Regions from separate parts of the Homo sapiens genome. Here regions 1, 3 and 4 are each linked to region 2. Evidence: promoter capture Hi-C in 16 types of primary human blood cells and fetal thymus (Javierre and others, 2016). All regions are on one chromosome and are shown on one strand. The core of a region is centred on a gene start or on the middle of the fragment in contact, and the rest is flanking DNA. Distances in the headings are between cores, read along the strand shown.

Region 1 (6,217 bases), core at 2,771-5,270, 560 kb after region 2:
AAAAAAAAGCTTAGTCCCAAAGGTCATTCTGAAAGACATTTACATCATAAATACATACGTCATCTTTCCACAAATGAAGGGTAATTAAACAAGGGTAAACATGTAGCCTTTGGTTATGTTACATCACATACCACCATGTTGGGAAATTTTAAATTGCTCCTATTCATAAATAGGGAAATATGAGTCATAGATGTGTTTAGTTAAAAAAGATTAAGGAAAACCAAGAGTGAGACGTGCACATATGCAAAGAAAAAAAAAGTCTCAAGTGAAAGACAAATTGTTACAAAGATCAGACTTTTGAGAACACAAAGAACAGTCACACTGAATTCCATTCAAATATTAAGAACCTACCATGTGCAAAAAAAGTGCTGCAAAAACACGAGTTAAGATTTTAAGTTCCATTAAAAGAGAAGTTATGATAAAAGCACACACACTTAATGATTCCTGTTTTTGCTGTAAAAGTTCTTATATGCTATAAAAATGTTACTAAAAATACGTCCCTCATAGACAAGATTTTTCATGAGTAAAATGAACACAATTAGATATACTGACGAATCAGGAAAATAGTCATCAAAAACATTTTTTAATCAAAGTCAATTCTGCATAGGAAAAAATAATTTTAAGGGTACAAAAAGCAACATACTGAAATATTAAGGAAATTTGATCTCCTTATCTTTAAAAATAATCAACTATAGTTCAAACAAGCCGAGCAAATGGGAAGATACTAATTTTTCACCATGTCCACAAGTTGGAGGCTAATTTCCCTCTGTGCATGAAGAGTATTAATTACTCGAATAAAACCTTTTTGGTAAAGCTTAGAGTTCCTTTTGATGTCAAAAACACAGAAAGTTCAAAGGTTAGACAGCCACTCAACAGTATGACAGGCCTAAAACCTGAACAGGAAACTCATTTCTAAACTTACCCGTAAGGTATTGCAATCCTAAGGCCAGAGTGGCCAGGCATTGTTCAGCCGGCTGGTGTTTTTGTACTTTGCCTAAGGATTTATTCAGAGGGGTGACAATACCTGCCTCATCACCAAGGAGAAACATTCTTTTGGATACAAAGAATCCCAGCCATTTCTTCTAACACCGCCCCCACCCCCACCCCACCCACTAATTAGTTTCTCAACATTCTGGAAGGCCAAAGACCCTAGTCAAGTTGAATAGCCCCGGATTTAGCCCACATTATGTTCTATCTTGCACTTCACACCCCTCCCAAAATTAAAAAGAAAAGAAAAAACATGAACCACATTGGATGTAGTCAGGAGGAGGATGGCTGCAACAAGATTTACTTGGAAATAAGAAATAACTTCAATAGAAAGAAAGAAGTGGCTAATCATATAGAAAAGGTGTCATTTACAAAAGGTTACCAGAGGCATATAAACTCAGGGAAGCCAGATTTTGGCATACAGTGTGAGTCATTCCCTTATTCAATAAACATTCCCTAATGCCTCCAGGCACCCTGCTAGGCACTGGTTGAAAAGGCAAAAGTGGTCTCTGTTCCCAAAGAGTTCACAATGCAACAGGGATTTGAACTGGAAATATGAATATGAGTATCTGTTTGGTAGAGACCTCAGACAATCATCAAAGCAATAGAGAAAATGGTATGGAGGACGCCTCCACAAATTCAGATCATCTGTGTTTTCTGAGTTGTTCAGCTGATAAATGTGACTTGCCTTTTATCATCAACAAGAACTTCGTACCACCCTGAAATCTGATCAAATACTGTTTCCCTGAAATAGGAGATATCATCCATTTTTTAACCACTCAAACTTCTTCTCTTATCTATTAATTTCACCATTCTTTAGATTCAATATATCAAGTCTGGAAACTAATAGATGAATTAAGTAAATAACTGCCTTTTTTTTTTTACCTCCCATAAATTGGATCCAGTTATCAGCAAAACACTGAAGTTCCCTGAAGAAGTTCTGGTGGAGACTGAAACATTAGTTTTTAAAGGAGATTAGTTTTAATCAAATACTTAACCTTTTATATCACTTGTAGTTTAAATGGTATTCTGCAGGCGTTGGGCATAATCAAAATGAAATGCATTTTTCTCTGAAGGTAGTTCTTTTAAAACTCGGCCAATAATAATGCCTTTTAAAGTGCAAGGATTTTTGCCACCGAAAGAACCTGAGCAATGAACTTAAAACTACATTTTTAAGTATATAGATAAAAAGCATACCTCATCTATTATAATAGGTGGAGCAAGTGTTGGCCCTCCTTTACTAAATACAGAAGTCTCATACTATGAGAGGCACTTCAATGCAGTGGGAAGTCATAAAATGTGGTTCCCATTCTGGTTTCTTCACTAATTAACACATCATCTCTCCATGTCTCAGCTTCCTCATAACCCTACTCTTCAGCAGGCAGATAAGACCATTAACTCTTTTGGAGGGCTAGGGGGGAGGGTGGAGTCCTAAAATTCAATGGATAATAAAACTAGTTAATATTTAGGGAGCACTTATCTTATGCCAGGCACTGAGCAAAATGCTTTTCATTCAGTATCTCATTTAATTTTACAGAGCAGCACTAAAAAGACAGATACCAGAATCACCATTTTACCGATGAGGAAATGGGGGCTTAGACAATTAAATGACACGCAAAAGGATATCAAATACTCATAACCACTAACCTCAACCATTTCCCCAAGCCTTGAAGTTCTCACTAGGTCATGCAGGTAACCAGATTCCAACTGATTTTTAAAATACACTGTTTTCCAGAAAAAGAAACATTTTGCAGTATTTTTACATAAGATTGCTGAATGTCAATTCTGCATACTTTTGCAATAAGAAGGTTTCAATCAAACAATTTCTCTCTTTGTTTTAGCTCCAAGTAGATATACTATGCATAGATAACTGCTTCTAAAGTCAGAGCAGTGTTCTGGAATGCAGAACCAGATCATCTGCTAGGATGTACATTTTCATCCCCAATGTCTACAGAACAGGTATTTGGGGGTCTTACCTTTCATAAAGTGTTTTCATCACAGAAGCTGCCCCCAAAGAAGATGAGGAAGCAGATATCTAAATAACTGTACCTCTTCCTCAGTAGTCTTTCTGATCTTTGCCCATCTGCCTTTCATCCCTGCATATACTGAGTCCCAGGAGGAGATGGGGAAAAGGGGATTACAAAGAAATTGCCACTGTCATTTAATGAATTGATGCTGGCGTGCTTTTAATAGCCCCATTTAATTGTGCAGTCGTATTTTCTGCAGAAGCCCTCCTACCACTAATGTATTAACAGTCTCTTACCCTGCCCCGGGGAATTACAACTGCTCCATTTTCTCCTCTTTCAACCCAGTCTGTACATTATTTGCCTTCCTCTTAAAATTGTCACAAAAACCGAGAGCAAAACAAAAAATTGCAAGGTTTTAGCCAGATATAAGGTAAATATATGAAAATATGGCATTTAACTGCTGGGGGAAACAAGAGTCGGGGAGTTCTTGTAAAAGAGGAGTGTGATTAACAGTATAAAAACGATCAAGTCCTGCGGCCACAATCATGGGGACAAGAAATGTTAATTTCCCGTTATTTTAAAACCATAACATCATTGACTCCATTACAGAGAACTGATGGCAACATGTGACCTCAGACTAGGGGAAGGGGATGGATTTTCTCATCCTAAGATACTATGCCAGGCCAAAAATAACAAAATGCATTAAAAATAGCTGAAGTCTTAACTGAGGCCTGTTGTATCCAGGGATATATTTATTTCTAAACTTTCGCATCATGCACCATAACACAATGCAAAAAGAACAATTCTCATGTAAGTTTCACTATTGTCCTAAAAAGCATTGTTCTTCACATCTGAGAGGAAAAAAAGTTTCTAAAACTAGACATCATGAAAAGGCATCTTAAGATTACGGCTGGAAATCTTTTGATTTTATTATTTGGAAAATTCTAAATTTATTTTCCAATAAGATCTTTCTGTTCTTTCCCCATCATACTAATACGAATAAACCTCCCCCAAAATAAAACCATTATAAGGTGACAATAAGATTGAGTAATCCAAAACAAGGATATTTTAGCAGATGTCCAGTTTCTTTTAACAAGAAACAGATGGGCAAAATTTAAGTAAATGTGGGGTATCAATTTCTATACAACAAATGAGTTCCAAACTTACAGGTAATGCAACCCAAAACACCAGGCCAAGCTAACTATAATTATATAGTGAGCTGAACACGTTTTCTTTTAATTCCATTTCAAATGGTTTTCTCACACGTCTTTCCTACCCACATGCCCGGTGAAATCTCTGCTGGTCTTCTGGACTTCATTTTAATTTCCCTCACTCATTCTAAATTTCTTCTGAAATTGAAAATAGAGAAGAAAGAATTAAGTTTGGAGCGAGGGAAAGAAACCAGAAATTTCAGAACAGTAAGGCCAGCACTACTGATTACACTCTCTTCCAATCAGTTTCTCAATCTCTGTCACCAGGATACGCCCTGGAGTATGTACTTATAGCCCAAGACATTTTTACACCTCTTATAGTTGATTGACAAGACCAATTGACAGTTAAACTGGTGGGGCTTGCGAGATGGAGAAACAGACATATCTCCTCATTTTAAGCATACAATTTGATAAAATTCCATCTCAGGATATAATGATACTTTTAGCTAAACTCTGGTCTTGAGGAATTTAAGAACCAAATTTGAAGTTTAGACTTGTGAATGAGCCTAGGACACAAAAAGCACTTAATAAACGCATACTCAATGCCTGAGTGAATAATCTACAGAACAGTAATCTCCACAATTAAAGAACATTTATGGAAGACACTGTACTATTTAATACTCTCCATCGAGTCCCCATTGCTCCTATTATATCTGTTATGAATATATCTTCTTCTTATGTGGCTAATCACCCACCAGTCACCATAAGTGTTTAATGATTCAGGTTGTCAAGGCCAGCCTGGCCCTAATCCATATTCTGAATATAAAGAATTCAAGAACTAAACCCAGTATCATTAGGCAGACAGGTTCTCTGCCTATGCCCTAGGTGACACCTCAACACCTCTCTTCCTAATCTAGTTTAATAGGCTCCTAAGACGCCACACCCTTTCTGGTGTTCTTACTGCCCAGCACAGTCCCCAGGACATAGTAAGAAGCTCAATAGAAGTTTTCTAAACTCAAGAATCAAGCACTATTGACCAAGCTATTGGTCAATGGGTCTCAATAAGAAAAGAGGGAGGCGGGGCGCAGTAGCTCATGCCTGTAATCCCAGCATTTTGGGAGGCCAAGACGAGCAGATCACTTGGGGTCAGGAGTTCGAGACCAGCCTGGCCAACATGGTGAAACCCCATCTCTACCAAAAATATAAAAAATTAGCCAGGTGTGGTGGTGGACACCTGTAATCCCAGCTACTCCGAAGGCTGAGGCAGGAGAATTGCTTGAACCCGGGAGGCAGAGGCTGTAGTGAGCCAAGATCATGCCACTGCACACCAGCCTGGGTGATACCATCAACCAGTCTGGTAATGATTTATCTTTGACCTAGTAATCCCACTGGAGTGGATCCTGAGGAACTTATCTATTAGTTTGGAAGACAAATGAGGTAATATACAAACCACTGATCTAATCACCAAGCTCTCTCAGTCAAACTGAATGGGAGAGATTCAAGATCCTCAACTAGGACTTTTATAATAACCTAGACCAAGACTGTCTGGTGATCACAGAGTATACAGAGTTAAGATGCAAGGAACTCTCCCAAGCTAGAATAAATAGGACTTGCTAAAGTGACTATGTCCCAGATGCTACCTCCTGGGATCAACTGCAAGTCGTGTCATAGGAATTATCACAGAGCACAAAGTCTGTACTACCATAGTACTTGTCATAATGCATCTTGTTCATGCTTGGTTGTGTGCACATCCATCTCTTTCACTGGGCTGCAGGCTCAAAGACTGCAGGGATCAGATTTTCATGCAGCAATTCAACAACCAAGCAAGAAACCAAGCTGGGCATGTTATATAATTCAGTCGTTATTAAGCCTGCCTGACAGAGCATCAGGGTCACTTGTAAAACCTTCAAAACCCAAATGCCCAGAGCCCAGCTCCTCGAAATGCTGGGTCCACATATGTCAGTGTTTTGAAAAGTGCTTAAGTGACTCTGGGAGCACAGTCCAGGCTGAGACCTAGGGCATGGCATTAGGGAAGCGTTTGATTCCAGAGCCCAGTTCATGCGGTGTTCAAATCCTACTCCGCCCCTTATGCTTTGCACGACTCTGGGCAAG
Region 2 (5,639 bases), core at 2,008-4,507:
ATGCAGGCTATTTTAAGTAGGGTGGCCAGAAAAGGCCACTGTAAACAAAGCCTGGAGAGATAGCTGAGAGAAGAGCTTCCCAGGCCAAAATAAATGAGTCTGAAGTGAGATGAACTTGGAGTGCACAAGGAATAGTAAGGAGGTGTATGTATCTGGAGTGAGGGGAGAGCTGTGGGAACTGAGAGAGCAGGAACAGCCTAGGCCAGCACATGTGGAGGTGTGCAGGTCATGCAGCTTTGGATTTTATTCTAAGCACGATGAGAGGACAGGAGAGCAGGGGAGAATCATAACCTGACTTAGCTTGTAAGTTTGCCTGTGGGTGCTGTAATGAGTGTGGACTGGATGGGGCAAGTGTAGCAGGAAGGGAGTTCAATTAGGAGACTCTTGATTGTTATCCAGCATTCTAAATAAGAGAAGACAGCTTGGACTAGGTTGAAAGGGGTGAAGTAATTGGTCACATATAGGATATATTTGAAAGTCAGAGTTCATTCTATTTTCTGATGACTTGGAAGTAGGGTGGGAAAGAGAGAAGCCAGGATGGGCAACTAAATGCATGGTGGTGCCAGACAATGACATGGGAAAAGTGTGGTAAAGAAGGTTGGGAGGGATCAAGAGTTGGGTTTTCTTAGACATAAGTTTTAGATGCCAAATAGCCATCCAAGTCAAGATGTCAGGTTTTTAGGTATGTGAGTTTGAATTTAGGGACAGTTTGGATTGGCGGCATGTGGTAGGCAGATTTTAGTTACTCCCCGAAGATGTCCACATCCTAATTCCCAGAGTCTGTATGTCATGTTACATGGCAAGGGGCGATTAAGGTAGCAGACGGAACTGAAGCTGCAAAACAGCTGACCTTAAAATAAAAAGATATCCTGGATTATCTAGGTGGACCCGATGTAATCAAAATGATACTTAAATGAAAGAGAGGCAGAGGACTCAGAACCAGAGATATGGCATATTCAACTAGCCAATTCTGGCTTTGAAAAGGATGAAAGCTGGTTTTTGCAGTTGGTGGAAGTGGTCATGAGCCAAGCAATTGCGGCAGCCTTCTAAAATCTGGAAAAGACAAGGAAACAGATTCCTTCTGAGAGCCCCCAGAAGGGAACACAGCCCGCCAACACCTTGAGCGTAGTTCAGCGAGAACAATTTCAGACTTCTGAGCTAAAAAGCTATAAAATAATAAAAGGTGTGCTGTTTTAAGCCACAAAGTTTGTGGTAATTTGTTACATGTGCAATAGGAAATTAACATAAGGCATAATTTCTCGGAAACTTATTTTTTCTTCAGTGTATCCTGTCTTGGTAAATGACATAAACTTCACCTGAAGTTTCACATGAAAGCAGAAATACGTGCCATCCTTAATTCTTTCCTCTCCTTAATGTTCCTGATCCAGTTACTATCAAGTTCTCTAGATTCTACTTACTAAATATTTATTCAAAGTTACCCTCTGTCTCCTTTCTCTGCACAGGTCATGATCATCATCATCATTCCCCTTTGGGAGAGAAGACAATAGAAACCCACCATCTGTTCCCCATTTAGCAACCAGAATAAGTGTTCTAAAATGAATATTTCAAATTATTCCTCTCACCTTGAAACTCTTCAATGGCTTGCTATTTCACTCCATAAATTCTCAACTGCTTGACATGGGTTAGAAGATCCTCCAGGGTTGCCTCTGTCTTCAGCCTTATTTCCTAACACTCGTCCTCACACTGAACTTCTTCCAGATCCTAGAAAGCATTAGGAGGCCTCTTCACTTCAGGTGTTGGCACTGGCCTTCCTCGTCCTCATAGAAAAGACTCTATCATTCGTTACTCCCTTCCCTATCCACCTTCAGGTTCCACACTGCTCCCTTCAGGTCGTTCTCAATCTCCTAAATTGTTAGCACCCTGATATCAGGAACTTTTGCTTCAAGACGCTCATCACAATAGTGTTCTGTTTGTCCCCATGACAAACATGCTGCAGGGCTTTTGCCTGGTTTGTTCAGTACGCTATCTTCACTCCTAGCACCCAGCACATAATAGGTGCTCAGCCAATATTTGTCGAATGGTAATTACCGAAGACCTGCGAATTACTATGTTTAAAATCTCTACCAGGGTTCCTATGACATATTTAGTAACTATTTCCTGGAAAGTCCGTACAATGGAGCATTCAGATACTTCTAAAAAATGCAATGTTTGTGCCTATCACTAATTTTACATTCTTCACTTTTCCCCACTTTGGAGATGAACAGTAAGTGAGAGACATTGTGAGAGACATTTTAATTTCTCTTGCATTTATCATGTCACTCAACAATCATTCAATAAGTATTTATTGATACTTGTGCCAATCACTAGGTGTTGAGAATAAGTGAATAAAATAGTCTGTTTTCATGGAGTTGGCAGTGTGTGTAGATAGGGTGAGATAAAGTCTGAAAGTAAACAAACTGAAAGCTATATAAAATATCAGACAGTAGGCCGGGCGCGGTGGCTTATGCCTGTAATCCCAGCACTTTGGGAGGCCGAGGCGGGCGGATCACGAGGTCAGGAGATCGAGACCATCCCGGCTAACACGGTGAAACCCCGTCTCTACTAAAAATACAAAAAATTTGTCGGGCGTGGTGGCGGGCGCCTGTAGTCCCAGCTACTCGGGAGGCCGAGGCTGGAGAATGGTGTGAACCCGGGAGGCGGAGCTTGCAGTGAGCCGAGGTCGCGCCACTGCACTCCAGCCTGGGTGACAGAGCGAGACTCCATCTCAAAAAGAAAAAGAAAAAAAAATCAGACACTAATAAGAGCCAGAGTCAGAAAGAAGTGTGTGTGTTGATCATTTTTTTTGCTTACAGATACTGGGAAAACTCAAAGAATAAAACATCTGAGCAGGGACCAAGAGCAATCGGGGAGTCCGTATCATGTCACAGAGAAGCGTACAAGCTTAGGAATCTTGTTTTCTGAATTCGAATCGCAGGTTGCCAGTTACACCTGTATGCGACTCAACAAGTACTTTAACCTGTCTCTTAGCTGTTATACTACAAACCTCAGGCTTGTTAAGAGAAAATGCTCCGCAAGGAACTAAACACAGAAGGTTCTAACGCTGAGCCAAGACTGGGAAACGAACTCTGGGAACTCACCCCAGGCTCCCCAAGAACATCGCCCCTCTGGCTGGAGCGCAATTGGTGATTGGCTACTTAACCCGTCCGTCCTTTCCCGCCCAGGGGTCCAATCCAATCCAGCCCGGCTCCGCTCGGAGACAGTTCGCCGAGTGGGCGGTGTCTATGACGTTTTCTGACGTGTTACGTCACAGTGGGCGGAAGTCGCGGCCGCTGTTTTGAAATCGGGCCGCGGGGGGTCTCTCAAGCTGGTTCCAACGCTGAGGCCCCACAGCCTCCCAATTCCGGGCAGACCCCTGACACCTGCTGTCTGGCCCCTTCCGGCCTGAAGCTGCAGCCGCGCCATGTCCACCCCTCCGTTGGCCGCGTCGGGGATGGCGCCCGGGCCCTTCGCCGGGCCCCAGGCTCAGCAGGCCGCCCGGGAAGTCAACACGGCGTCGCTGTGCCGCATCGGGCAGGAGACAGTGCAGGACATCGTGTACCGCACCATGGAGATCTTCCAGCTCCTGAGGAACATGCAGGTAGGAAGGCGGGCGCGCGAGGCCAGGGGGATGCAGCTGGGAGGGAAAGGGCCTCTGGTTTCCTCTTTACGTGGGGCCCGTGGATGTCATCGGGGCTGCCCTGGGCAAACCTTAGGTGTAGGGTCTCCCCCATTCACACTCAAGAGTGTCCCCAAAAGTCGGATTTGTAGAGGTGATGTTTTCCAGACCAGATTTCTGCAGAATTGAAGCCAATTTTTTTTAGATTCAATCGAGCTCTTTAGTTACTCTGTAAACTCTTGCACCTTTCAAGGCAGAGATGGGTCGCACTCCACTTCCCTCTTTAGGTTGCTTTAAATGTTTTTTCCAGCATTTCTTCTGGGGAGGTCCAAGGAGTTGAAGAATTTACATTTTTTTTAAAAAAACAGTCCTCCTTTTTTTGGCATAGTTAATATACAGTAAACTACACTCACCTAAAGTTTTGATATATATGTGTACTGTAGTCTGTATACTTGTGAAATTATCACCACAATCAAAATAGTGTACACATCATCCCAGAAAGTTTCTTCATACCCCTCTGACATCTTTGCTTCCCACCTTCCATCGCTAAGCAACCATTGATCTGCGTTCTGTAATCATAAATTAATTTGCATTTGCTAGGGTTTTATATAAACGGAGTCTACAGTATGTGGGCTTTTTTTTTTGTCTGAGATCCTTCACTAAGAATGCATCAATAATTTCCTTTTTATTGCTGAGTAATGTTCCATTGTATCCATGTATCACCATTTGCCTACCTTTTCTTCTGTTGATGGACATTTGGGTTGTTTCCACTTTTTGGCTGTTGTAAATAATGCTGCTATGAACTTTTGCTGACAAATTTTTGTGTGAACGTATGTGTCATTTCTCTTGGACAGATTCAGGAGTGGAATTGCTGGATCATGCAGTACATGTCTGTTTAATACTTTAAGAAACTTTTCCAAAGTGGCCTGAGCCATTTTACGTCCCGATTATTGCTAGTGGGAATGTAAACATTGCTGTTTGAGGGTTCTAGTTTCTCCTCATCCTCATCAACACCTGTTATGTCTTGATGCTTTCCAAATACTTCTCCCAGTCTATCCTGCCTTTTTATTCTCTTAATACTGTCTTTTGAAGAACAGACATTTTAAATTTTGATGGAATCCAGCTTACTGATTTGTTCTTTTATAGATTTTGGTTTTGCTGTCATACCTAAGAAATCTTTGCCTAACCCAAGGTGACAAAGGGTTTCTGTTTTCTTCTAGAAGTTTTGTACTTTCAAGCTTTATATTTAGGTCTACAACCTATATTTAGTTTTGTGAGTTTTTAAATATGTATACATAGTGGCAGATACGGATCCAAGTTCATTGTTTTGCATTTGGATATCCAGTTGTTCCAGCACCATTTTGCTGACCCATTTTTAATGCTTGCTTATATTACCCACTACATGTAGTAGATATTATTTTTGTTTTACAGATGAAGATTCTGTACTTCAGAGAGATAAAGTGACTTGCCCAAACCTAGTCAGTGGTAGGGTAAATTTGAAACCAAGTTTTCAAAAATCTTACAGCTCTTATTTCTGTGGGTGTCCAAAAAAGTGTTTTATTGCTTTTTTTTTTTTTAACTGGTCAAGACTTTTTTTTTCGTCCTGATTATAAGAGTAATTCAGTTTCGTGGAAATTTTTAAGACCATGTGAAATATAGTACAAAGGAGATCCAGGAGAAATTATGACATTCTTTGGCAATAATTTAAAAAAATGAATAGATTCATATCTAGAATGAATAAAGTACGGATTAAATAATGTCTCAGAATTTAGCATACTTTAAAAAAAATTTTGTCCTGTTATATGCAAAGCACCGAATAATACCTAACACTTACGAAGTACTTTCCTTGGTCAGGTACCCTGTTATAGGAGCAGTTTTAAGGAGTATTTTTATCCCTATTTTACAGTAAAGGAAACTGAGGCTTAATGAGAGAAAAAATAAATTACCCAACATCACACACGACTAATAGCTCTTCCTACTAACCTCTTTTTAATACTAACTTGCTGTCAATGTACATTATTAA
Region 3 (6,483 bases), core at 2,565-5,064, 620 kb after region 2:
TACTTTCTATAAACAGTCTTACTCTGTCACCCAGCCTAGAGGGCAGTGGCACGATCATAGCTCTCTGCAGACTCAAACTCCTAGCTTGAAGCCCTCTTCCTGCCTCAGCCTCCTGAGAAGCTGGGACTACAGATATGTGCCACAGTGCCTGACTATATCTATATATTTTTAGAGATGGGAGTCTTTCTGTCCTGCCCAGGCTGCTCTTGAACTCCTGGCCTCAAGTGATCTTCCTGACTCAGCCTCCCAAGTAGTTGGGATTACATGTGTGAGCCACTGCGCCAGGATTCCATTCTAGGATTCCATTCTATCTGGCTAAGATTCTATCTGTTTTAGGATTTCATTCTATCTGGCTACAATAATAAAGATAATGTCACAGCTTGCTCACACCCTGTGGCTGGACCCCGTATCTTCTTCCCACCCACCTACCAAAAGACTGAGGCCCATTTTCCGTTGGCTCTCATTCAAACTCTGTCAGTTAGGATCTTCTCCTTCCCACTCAATCCTCTAGGGTGATAAGCACATTTTCCAGCAGCTCTGGAGTCATGGCTGCTTACAAAAACTGTGCCAATCCAAACAAGTCCAGCTGGAAGGCGCTGGACTTCCTTTCCTCTGCCATCTTCCCAGCTGAAATCACAGGGAGTTTTGAACCAGCAGACAGGAGCTGAAGCAAGAGACACAAGTCTCATTTCCCTAGGGTGAAGCACAGAGCTGTTAGAATGGTCCCTCCCTTATTCTTTCAAAAAACTTTGACACCTTCAAAAATGGCACAATTGAAGAAGAAGGATAAACAATAATTGAAATGGAAGGATAAACAGTACATGATATTATGAAACTAAAATGAAGCCAAAATGTTCTCATTCTTTCACCTCAATATAACCTCCAGAAAACCAGGGAATTTGTCTTTTATTTTTTTTTTTGAGACAGTGTCTCACTCTGTTGCCCAGACTGGAGTAGAGTGGCATGATCACAGCTCACTGCAGCCTCCACCTCCTGGGCTCAGGCAATCCTCCCACCTCAGTCTCCTGAGCAACCGGGACTACAGGCATATGCCACCATGCCTAGCTAATTTTTTATTTTTTTGTAGAGATAGGATCTTGCTATGTTGCTCAGGCTGGCCTCAAACTCCTGGACACCAGCAATCCTCCTACCTCAGTCTCCCAAAGTGCTGAGATTATAGGTGTGAGCCACTGCACCTGGCCTTTGTCTGTCTTATGTATTGTTATATTTCCCTGCAATCTGTATTGGGGGTAAGAGACAATGACTCTTATTGAGGTGGAGGGCATCGTGTTTCAGAGAAACTGGCACTCCACAACTATTTCATTTGCTCTTCTACATTTTCTAGCCTCTTTTGCAGTTTGGTTGGGCTGTACAATTAATTCTGGCCAATTAGTGAGTGGAAATGACACTTGTAGGCCATGATAATTAAAAGCCTAGAGCTTTCTCCATCTTTCTTTTCCTTCCCTGAAGCAACTTGGGAAACCATTGCCTTGATTCATAATACAGAAGAACCCTGGCCCTCTGAGTCATTAGGAGCCTACCCCTGTCCCATGGCCTGCATCAGGTTTTACATGAATAAGAGATAAAGTTTTGTTGGGCTGAGTCACTGAGATTTCAGGGTTTATCTGTCATTGCAGCATAGCTTAGACTATCTTAACTAATAAACACTGCATTATTCATATATTAATTCAACTGACATTTATTGAGTACTCCAGAGTGTTAGTCACAAGAGCAAGAATATTTAGGAACTGGCAAAAAGATAAGCAGCTACAGAAGCAAATTCTAAGAGATATGAAATTCAAAGGACATTGTCAACACTTTTCTGGCTCAGCTTTTACGAAAGTCTTCAGAGTTCAGTAGCCCTTTGTTCAATGTAACAGAAGTACTAACTAATTTGAGACTGCCATATGTGTAGAGAAGATGCAAAAAATAAGAATAATTGTTCCTTACATGTTTATGTGCTTCACATTTACAAAGCCTGTTAGAAATGCATGGTCTCATTAGAAGTTTATCAATAAGTTTGTGAGGATGATATGTGAGGTATGATTGCTCTCATTTTACCCTGGTGGAAAATGAAGCTTGGTCAGGGGAGATCCACATTGCTGATAAATAACAGAATCAAATCTGAAGCCAAGGTCTGCTGTCTTGAGCCAATGCCCCATACACCAAGCTTCCTGCTAACAGTCTGATATTTGACTTTCCATGATGAAAACATACCAGTATAGAAATTGAGGTGTAGGTTAAGGAGGGAGAAATGGGGTAGGCCAAATAACTCTGGTGAATAGTTTTGATGTAAAGAGTAAAATTGTTAGTTCTGACTCAGTGAGTAATAGAAGCCACATAGATCTTAAACAGAGCATCTTTCTATTTAATTTACCTTTTGCTGTGCCACCTGACTCCATGGCAATTGCCAGGAAGTAAGCAAAGAAGCAAGACCAGATTTGGACATTTAAATCTTCAGAACCAAATGCAGAGAGAAGAATAACAGAGGGCTAGGAAGGGCTAGGGTCCCACCTTAGTCCTGGCCATCCCCTGTGATAGTTTCTAGAAAATTTTGGAAGATGGCCTCTCCCTGGGACAGTTATCAAAGGCATATGTTCTAGGATTGTAGACCCAGTTCATAGTAACATGAAATGATACCTTCTAGGCTCAGTAGCTAATAACCACGCAAATTTTGTGGCCCCAACTAGAGATTCTCACTACATAGCTGGAGGTTTTAGAGCCACGTAGAGACTTTGGCACCTGATTAGAAAAGTTGTTCCAAGGCCTCAGAGGGAGGCTGTGCATCTCTCCCAGGTCCTTGAACCTCTTGTTTCCAGTGCCAAAATTAACAAATGTTAGAAGCAGACTCTCACTATTCAACAATGTGTAAGCCATAAACCGAAATGACATTAACCTTTTAAGAATCAATCTCAGCATTAATCTAGCACCCACATTCCCCCTTTACCTCTACGAAAAGTCTATTTCTGCAACTTGGCTTATAGCATCTCTAGAAGTTCCCTCTTGCCTTCTATCACCTAATGTCTCTCAATTCTTCAAACCCTAACTCAGGTTTCTCTTCTTCTGGGAACCTTCTCCTGTCCATCCCTACCAAGTTCAGACCAAACATTTAACCATTCAATTCATATCTATCGAATGCTTGCTTTACTGCAGAAACTGTCTTCGGCATTGGGAACACGGTGGTGAACTGGAAACCTCAGATCAACGGGCTAACTTCCAGTCTAGCAGACCAGAGTATTTGCTTCCTGCTATCTGCTTCTATAACAAATTCAAGTACTCCTACATTGGCCCTCACAATATGCTGCTGACATGAATCCTTGGCTATCTTTGCTCAGATAAGTTCTTTGATGTCAAAAGCCATTCATGTGTCACACATTTCTGATCTCTGCAGTGCCAAGCAAAGGAGTGGGCTAATAGATGAATATCTACTAGTTTATATAAGTGACTAATACTATCCTGTGTCATAGAGCTAATGGCGGTGAGGAAGAAGAGTGAGGGAAGGGATGTGTTTAGACTTGGTTTGCCTAGAGCACAGACCCAGAGATGTGTTAGAATAATGAATAATAATAATAGTGAATAAACCACAGGCACCGGCCAGGGCCTGTTTATTACGAAACACATCAAGGAAGTATGATGGTAAACCTCTTCTGGTTGAGTAACTTAGCTTATACTACTTGTTTAAGCTCACCAAGGGAAATTCCATCATAAAACACAACTTTTTTTTTAAAGGGATTCCTAAAGGTTGACTTCTGAGTTGTGATTTCTGGGGACACAGTCAAGACTTTTGATTACCTGTACATCTGATTTATGGAGAATCATTTGTGCAAAACCAAGAGGGGCACAGTATATCTAAGAGTATAGATTCTCCTCCTTTTAGATAATGTGTACTGCAGAATTACTTATAGAATTAGTTATATAGGACCCCAAGTCAATTTACATAAATGTTTTTGCACAAATGTAAAAAAAATTCACTAAGGAATTATGGTTATTTTTGAAGCCAGATAAACCCTAATTTCACATGAAGAAATTGAGGCATAAATACCCTAAGTGACTTGTCAAAGATCATGCACTCAATTAGTGTCAAAAGCTGAACTGAAATGCAGAACTCATGGCATCTACCTGTGTACTTTGCGCCACATCACAGTAAAGTGTAAAAGCATGTTAGGGAGTTGCAAGCATGCCTTTGAAGCCGTTCTCTATCTGTCATTATAAATACCCAGACTGATAGAGCTCAGTGGTGTTCTTCCAAGAATGTGAAGCATAGACTGCAGAGAATCCACAGCAAGAGGGGTTAAAATTAAACCTGTGGGAATTAATCTCCAACTTTCTAGGCACGGGCAAAGTGAGAGTATATCAATCAGAGAAGAAAAAATGTAGAGTCCAGAAAATGAGACAATATCCTAACATGCCATAGAATATGGAAAGCACGAAAACACGGAGAGGACTGAGGTCTACGCACAGTCATTTCCCAGACCCCCAGATCCTTGTTTATTTACTCCCTTGTGTTAGTTTCTTGTGGCTGCTATAACAAATTATCACAAACTTGCTAGCTCAAAACAACAGAAATATATTTTATTGCAGTTCTGAAGACCAGAAATCCAAAGTAAAGGTGTTGGCGGGGCTGTGTTCCCTCCTAAAGTTCTGGGAGAGAATCCTTCCTCCCCTCTTCCAGCTTCTGGTAGCTCCAGGCATTCCTTGGTGTGGCTGCATCTCTCCAGTTTCTGCCTCCGTGGTCATGTTGCCTCCTCCCCTTCCGTGTGTTTTCTCCTCTGTGTGTCTTATAAGGATTCGGGCGAGGATCTCTGGACAGCATTTAGGCCCTGCCCAGATAAGCCACAATTGTCTCTTCATCTCAAGATCTTTAATTACATCTTCGAAGACTTTTCCCAAATAAAATCACATCACAAGCTCCAATGTTTGACATGAATATTCTTTGGGGGCATTATTTTTTAGCCACTCTCCCACTTCTATTATTGCACATATTCATTATTTGGGTAATTATTTTTGACAACCCTCATCCCCACTGAGAGAGTTCATGGGGGCCATAAGCCTTGTCTGTTTCACTCACTGCTGCTCCCAAAGCACCTAGCACAGTGCCTGGGACATAGTAGACATTTAATGATATTTGGTAGGTAAATAAAAATTTATTAATTTCTTATTACATATTAATTTATTGATGAAAATGAGTTTTAATTTTATTGAATTAATAACATTTTTATTAATAAAATTAATTTAAAAATTGGTGCAAGGAAGGGAGGAAAAAGGGGAGGGGAAAGAAAGAGGGAAGAAAGAACAAAAGCAAGGAAGGTGGGAAAAGGGAGAGAGAGAGGGAAAAGAAGATAAGGGAAAAGAAGGGAAGAAAATATCTCTAACTCTCACTAGAAATTCTGAGATTGGGTTAAAGGTGAGAAAAACGAGGATGCGTTTTAGAAAGCTGAAGGCCACAATTAGCAAGTGATAAAGCTTTTATTTCAACTGAGGTACTAAAAATCCATATAGTCTCCAATGCAACACAGCCCTAGTTAGATGCCAGGGTTAGGTTAAAGAGAGAGCAATAAGATTCAGAGAAGTGCATGGTTTGCTTGCCTCAAGGAGTTTGCAATCTAGTGGGGAAGTTAGCTAGCTAGATATTTCACACACACAATAATGTGGCAAGTGCCAAATAAATAGAGTCTAGATTTTGAAAGGCTTTTAATGCTTTTGGATTTTATTCTATAAAACAACATTTAGATGAGATTTCCAGGCATAAGCAGTAATATTTAAAATTTGCTATTTTGATAGTAAATAACAGTTTTATAGCTGCTGTGTAATTTCAAGTACAAATATCTATTATGACTCATGCTAAACTACATTAGCCCATGGGATTATCCTAAGGGGTAAATTATATATTTGGCATAAATCCAACCATTGGAAAATACTCACTTGAAAAATGCTCAATTATGTCATTCTTGAAGTGCATTTTATAAATAAATCTGAGTCTTCAAATCAGAATGTTCTTGAATGTTGACCAGCACCTGTGAATTATATAAGATCAAAACATCATTCAATGTTGAACACTATCTTGAGTGTTCATTCATTCATTCAATCCTTTCATAGGTGTTTATTGAGATCCTACTGTGTGTTGTTCTGGGAGCTGGAGGTAAAATTTGAATAAGAATGTAGTCCCTACTTTTAAAGGGCTCATTGTCTATGTTATCCAGATTCTCCAGAAAGCAGATGTAGGTGACAAAGTAAGGATTTCAGGAGGCTTATTGGAGAGTAAGCCGTGAACGTGAAAGGGTGAGGAAGCGGGATTGGACAAGGGAATCCTTTATGCCAAAAAGCAGATATGACATCTGTCAAAGGAAAGAGGGAGGAGGCAGGATGAGGAAGAGAGAGCCTCAGACTACAATGCAGATCTGATGAAGTCTTAGCTGACCCAAAGATTTCCTGCTAAAGGAGTCCTGAGTTGGCCCTGGTGCCACTGTTATACTCGGTCATTGT
Region 4 (5,666 bases), core at 983-3,482, 540 kb after region 2:
TAACTATAGTGCTAATCAAGGCAATCACACATCATTCAAAGTTATCACAAACCCGTATTTTCCATTGCCATTCATCTAGGAGTTTCTGTATGAAAGGTACAGACTTTAACAAGGCTTGCAGTGTTCATTGAAAGCAGCTACTTATTTTTCCACCTCCCACAAAAGAAGATGAGGCATTTTCCTAAGCTTTGCTGAAGTGCCAACTGCGAGTCACACAATCACAGTCTGGACAGAGGTGAACCATGACAACTGATGGGACCACCTACTTCACAACATTCACTAACATACCTGCCACATGCATGCAGATGCTGTGCTCTTGTTAGTCTTGAAAATGAATTGCTTCAGTTCTCTGTGAGAATACTGAGGGGTCTGTTTAAGCATGACAAACTAAAAATCCTCTTACAAACACTGCTGCGATATTAGCTACCATCCTTGCTTCGGTTTACAACTAGACTCTCCTGTGAGATCACAGACAAATTCAGCAGACTGTTTTGCTGTAGGTTTTACTTTAAGTATTAACTTCTCAGATCTTACATTATTATTATTTCATGGAGACAAACATCATACACTTAGTAAGACCAGAGCTACACTTTATTTATTTACTTATTTATTTATTTATTTATTTATTGAGACGGAGTCTCGCTCTGTGGCCCAGGCTGGAATGCAGTGGTACAATCTCAGCTCACTGCAAATTCAACTTCCCTGGTTCAAGCGATTCTCCTGCCTCAGCCGCCCGAGTAGGTGGTATTATAGACATGTGCCACCATGCCCAGCTAATTTTTGTATTTTAGTAGAGATGGGGTTTCACTGTTGGCCAGGCTGGTCTCAAACTCCTGACCTTAGGTGATCCATCCGCCTCGGCCTCTGAAAGTACTGGGATTACAGGCGTGAGCCACCGCGTCAAGTCGCTACACACTTTTTTTCTTTTTCTTTTTTTTAATACTTTAAGTTCTAGGATACATGTGCAGAATGTGCAGGTTTGTTACATAGGTATACACATGCCATGGTGGTTTGCTGTGCTCATCAACCCATCATCTACATTAGGTATTTCTCCTAATGCCATCCCTCCCCTAGCTCCCACCCCTTGACAGGCCCCGGTGTATGATGTGCCCCTCCCTGTGTCCATGTGTTCTCACTATTCAGCTCCCACTTATGAGTGAGAACATGCAGTGTTTGGTTTTCTGTTCCTGTGTTAGTTTGATGAGAATGATGCTTTCCAGCTTTATCCATGTCCCTGCAAAGTACATGAACTCACCCTTTTTTATAGCTACATAGTATTCCATGGTATATATGTGCCACATTTTCTTTATCCAGTCTATCATTGATGGGCATCTGGGTTGGTTCCAAGTCTTTGCTATTGTGAATAGTGCTGCAATAAACATAAGTGTGCATGTGTCTTTATAGCGGAATAATTTATAATCCTTTGGGATTATACCCAGTAATGGGATTGCTGAGTCAAATGGTATTTTTGATTCTAGATCCTTGAAGAATCGCCACACTGTCTTCCACAATGGTTGAACTAATTTACACTCCCACCAACAGTGTAAAAGTGTTCGTATTTCTCTACATCTTCTTCAGCATCTGTTGTTTCCTGAATTTTTTTTTTTTTTTTTTTTTCTGAGATGGAGTCTGTCACCCAGGCTGGAGTTGCAGTGGGACAATCTCGGCTCACTGCAACCTCTGCCTCCCAGATTCAAGCGATTCTCCTGCCTCAGCCTCCTGAGTAGCCAGGATTACAGGTGCCCGCCACCACACCCAGCTAATTTTTGTATTTTTAGTAGAGATGGGGTTTCACTATGTTGGCCAGGCTAGTCTTGTACTCCTGACCTCAGGTGATCCACCCGCCTCAGCCTCCCAAAGTGCTGGGATTACAGGCATGAGTCACCGCCCCTGGCCTTTCCTGACTTTTTAGTGATCACCATTCTAACTGGTATGAGATGGTATCTCATTGTGGTTCTGCTGTGCATTTCTCTAATGACCCATGATGATAAGCTTTTTTTCATATGTTTGTTGGTCGCATAAATGTCTTCTTTCACACTTTTAAATATGCTTCTAGATGGAGTCTTTGAAAAGGCTCTCAATTTCCCAGGAACCAACAAACAGATAACATTTCAGAGACTCTGAAGTGGATACAAGGAAAGATCAGGTGAGGAACTAAACTGTGGCAAAACAAAACAAAACAACAACAAAAACCAGACCAGAAAAACCAGGAACACCATGATTTCACAAAGTTGCATCAAAAAAGTTGTCAATTTTCTTCTTTTTCGTCTGGTTGCAAATCAGAAATATTTAAAAGTTTTAATTCAGAGGCTTCCTTCACCAAATGAATCTAAGAATCTGGTATGTGTTGTAAAACTGCATATTGTGTTGGGCATTCAGGAAAAAAATTCTCTGTACATTTGAACTTACACTTTGGGAAATTGCTAAAGGTAGTTTTAGTCATTCACATTCCAAACCAAGCACGACCAAAAACAAGCTTTTAAAAGTTCAAGCATATTTGTGTATTGGGAAAAGTTAGGAATGTAATATTTAGTGGGTGGGCATTTTTAAATAATGTACTTGTCCCAAATCTTCCACTGCACAGCAGAGCTGCAGAAATGGGCTGGAGTCCTCACTCTGCCGCTAAGTATCTGCCTGACCTTGGACATGGGACTGAGGTCTCTCAGTTTCAGTTGCACATTTGAAGAGAAAGAGGAGGTGAGAAGAAACTGGACACAAAAAGTCTAAAGGCCATTCCAGTTCCAATAAGGTTACTGTCCAGTACTATCTTAAAAGTTCTCATTCAGCTATCACATCTGTTTGAAAATTAACTGTAGAGATATGAGTTAATCAACTATAGTTGGCCCTTGAACAACATAGGTTTGAACTGCTCATTCCCACCTACATGAGGATTTACTTCCACATCTGTCACCCGCAAGACAGCAAGACTAACCCCTCATCTTCCTCCTCCTCAGCCCTACTCAACATGAAGACAATGAGGAAGAAGCCCTTCATGATGATCCACTTGCACTTAATGAATAGTAAATATATTTTCTCTTCCTTATTATTTTCTTAATAACATTTTCTTTTCTCTAGCTTTATTTATTTATTTATTTATTTATTTATTTATTTATTTATTTATTAGACAGAGTCTCACTCTGTTGCCCAGAGCTGGAGTGCAGTGGCATGATCTCGGCTCAAGTAGCCTCCGCCTCCCGGTTCAAGCGATTCTCCTGCCTCAGCCTCCTGAGTAACTGGAATTACAGGTGCGCACCACCCACACCCAAAATAGTTTTTGTATTCTTAGTAGAGATGGGGTTTCACCATGTTGACCAGGCTGGTCTTGAACAACTGGCCTCAAGTGATCTGCCCGCCTCAGCCTCGTAAATTGCTGGGATTACACATGTGAACCACAGCGCCAGGCCCAGCTTGCTTTATTGTAAGAATACAGCATATAATATATAGAACAAACAAATATGTGTTAGTTGACCATTTATGTCATCAGCAATGCTTCCAGTGAACAACAGGCTATTCATTGTTACGTTTTCAGGGAGTCAAAAATTATACATGGTTTTTCAGCTTCACAGAGGGTCAGCACCCCCTAATCTACATTGTTCAAGGACCAACTGTACTTGTAGATAAAGCTAAGCTTTCTGGAAATAAAAGTTTTTTAAAAAATTAAAAGCTAATATTATAGATGTTTTGCTACCCAATATGTGCTTAACAAACGTCTGCTCATAAATGATGAAGTCAAATGGGGAATAGACAGCTGCCGTCTGTAAGTCTCTGGTAGATTGTTTGTAACATAGCCACAATTCTCTCCCTAAATGCACACTGTTGAACAATCCCCTCTCTCACTGACTCTAGGTTTAGCCAGGTAACTTGCTTTAACCAAAAGAATGTAGTAGAAATGACACTGGGAGACTCTCAAGTCTAAACTTCAAGAAGTCTGGCATTTTTGAATATTGTCATCTTGGGGCACTGGTGCCATACAAACACACCTGAGCTAACTGGCTGGAGACGTCTTCCTCCTGGAGTACCTATACCACCTCCAACACTGTGTCTGGCTCATAGCAAGTGTTCATTATACTGCGGTTCTTACTTATGCAGGCATAGCTTGGACTAGCTGAAGGAAGAATGTGGTGTGAAGTAACAAAGAAGAATGAGGGGAAGGAATACATGGGCTGGATGGAAGCAGGTGCTATAGCATTCACTGGATGACTGACTGCTTGAGAGAGCCACTATTCTGTTCCTTGTCTAATGAACTTTCCAGGATGGACATAGTACATAACAGAGCCTAGCTTTAAACTAGACTATACACACCATAGCTGAGGAAATCACACCAACGTGAAGCGGTTTCATCCTACATCAAAGCAGTGGTCAAGTCAATACTAATTGGAAGTTGCAAGAATTATCCTCTCTCAATTATTAAATTAACGATCCAGCAATCTTAACTCAGCAAGGATAAGACCAGTTACATGCTACTTGGTTTTTAGAAACTGCACATTAAATCAGAAACCTAATCTTAACATAGGCTACTTCTGCTAACTCTCTTTTAGCTTGGTGACATTTGTGTTGATTCATGATTCATAAGCCCCATGCTGTAAGCTTTGCAGGGCTGGATCAACAGAGTGATGGCTATTAAAGGGAAATAAATCATTTATTTTCCCACTGTGGAAGGTAAGCTTAAGTCACCATCTACAAGACATAGCCATGGTGGCACATTTTCAGAGCATTTGCAATATTAGTAACAAAACTGCAACTACAACTTTCTGATTACCTGAGAAGGGCCCCCACTATATATCTAGAGCTTTAGAAAAACACTTTCATTTAATCTTCATAACACCTTTCAATGGAAATGTTATTATTCTCATTTTTACTGCTAAGCAGGTTGGTTCGGCAAAGCTGTGTGGCCACAGAGCTTACAGTGCCAGAGCTGAGCCTGGAATGCAAGTCTGGCAAACTCCGAAGTTCAAGTTCTTAACCATTCTTCAAACAATGTGGTCAGCCTCTTCTTGGCACCTTGAAAGAAAACTCAAAAATGTAGACATGCTTTTAAAATCCTGTCTTACAGGGAGATCACACCAGTTTTTGTTTGTTTTAGGTTCCAAGGTACTTGTGCGGGATGCACAGGTTTGTTACATAGGTAAACATGTGCCATGGTGGTTTGCTGCACCTATCAACCCATCACCTAGGTATTAAGCCCAGCATGCATTAGCTCTTTTCCCTAATGTTCTCCCCACCCCGCTCTCCCCCGACAGGCCCCAGTGTGTGTGTGTTGTTCCCCTCCCTGTGTCCATGTGTTCTCATTGTTCAGCTCCCACTTGTAAGTGAGAACATGCACAGCAGTTTTTTTTAATCCCCATGTTAAATAGTGTGGCTAATGCAATACATTCAAGATAAATAGAAACCAGAAGTGAAAAACTTGCCTAACACCTAAACCTGGATATATATTTCCTATTTTTAGGCGGCAGAATATATTACAAAAAACACATTCCAAGTACACCTGCCTGATAGACAATAAACACTCAAAATAAATTTTAAAATAATCTTTAATGGTAAATATTTTTTATATTCAATAGACAAGAGACTTTCCTCAAATTTTTTAGAAGAGTTGTTTTCATTATTACTATTACCATTGCTGTTGTGTTACTGCTGTTATTTATTCAGTCCAAGCCTAAGCTGCA

Evidence for each region. Contacts are between HindIII fragments. The CHiCAGO score rates a contact against its expected background, and 5 or more counts as called.
Region 1: a contact is called between a fragment that was not itself captured here and the fragment with the promoter of MED30 in region 2, in 7 of 17 cell types (non-activated CD4 T cells, total CD4 T cells, naive CD4 T cells and 4 more). The highest score is 8.9, in non-activated CD4 T cells.
Region 3: a fragment that was not itself captured here is called in contact with the fragment with the promoter of MED30 in region 2 in 1 of 17 cell types (monocytes); the score reaches 8.3 in monocytes.
Region 4: a fragment that was not itself captured here is called in contact with the fragment with the promoter of MED30 in region 2 in 1 of 17 cell types (monocytes); the score reaches 10.5 in monocytes.

What each region holds. Positions count from the first base shown.
Region 1 is chr8:118,078,565-118,084,781 of GRCh38, forward strand. All of the region lies in intron 1 of EXT1 (exostosin glycosyltransferase 1), which reads right to left. Among named protein-coding and RNA genes, the nearest start is that of EXT1, 30 kb to the right of the region's middle. The HindIII fragment of the contact is 6,417 bases long and covers 813-6,217 here.
Region 2 is chr8:117,517,456-117,523,094 of GRCh38, forward strand. MED30 (mediator complex subunit 30) reads left to right here and starts at 3,258. Exons shown (of 4, transcript NM_080651.4): 1 at 3,258-3,598. The coding sequence starts at 3,422. It overlaps LOC105375716 (a long non-coding RNA gene), which reads right to left and starts at 3,265. Exons shown (of 7, transcript XR_928569.3): 1 at 3,099-3,265; 2 at 1,584-1,722. The HindIII fragment of the contact is 1,953 bases long and covers 2,900-4,852 here.
Region 3 is chr8:118,139,370-118,145,852 of GRCh38, forward strand. It overlaps a transcript of SAMD12 not described here. Among named protein-coding and RNA genes, the nearest start is that of EXT1, 31 kb to the left of the region's middle. RefSeq lists a silencer at 3,241-3,535. The HindIII fragment of the contact is 3,293 bases long and covers 2,169-5,461 here.
Region 4 is chr8:118,063,257-118,068,922 of GRCh38, forward strand. All of the region lies in intron 1 of EXT1 (exostosin glycosyltransferase 1), which reads right to left. Among named protein-coding and RNA genes, the nearest start is that of EXT1, 46 kb to the right of the region's middle. The HindIII fragment of the contact is 484 bases long and covers 1,991-2,474 here.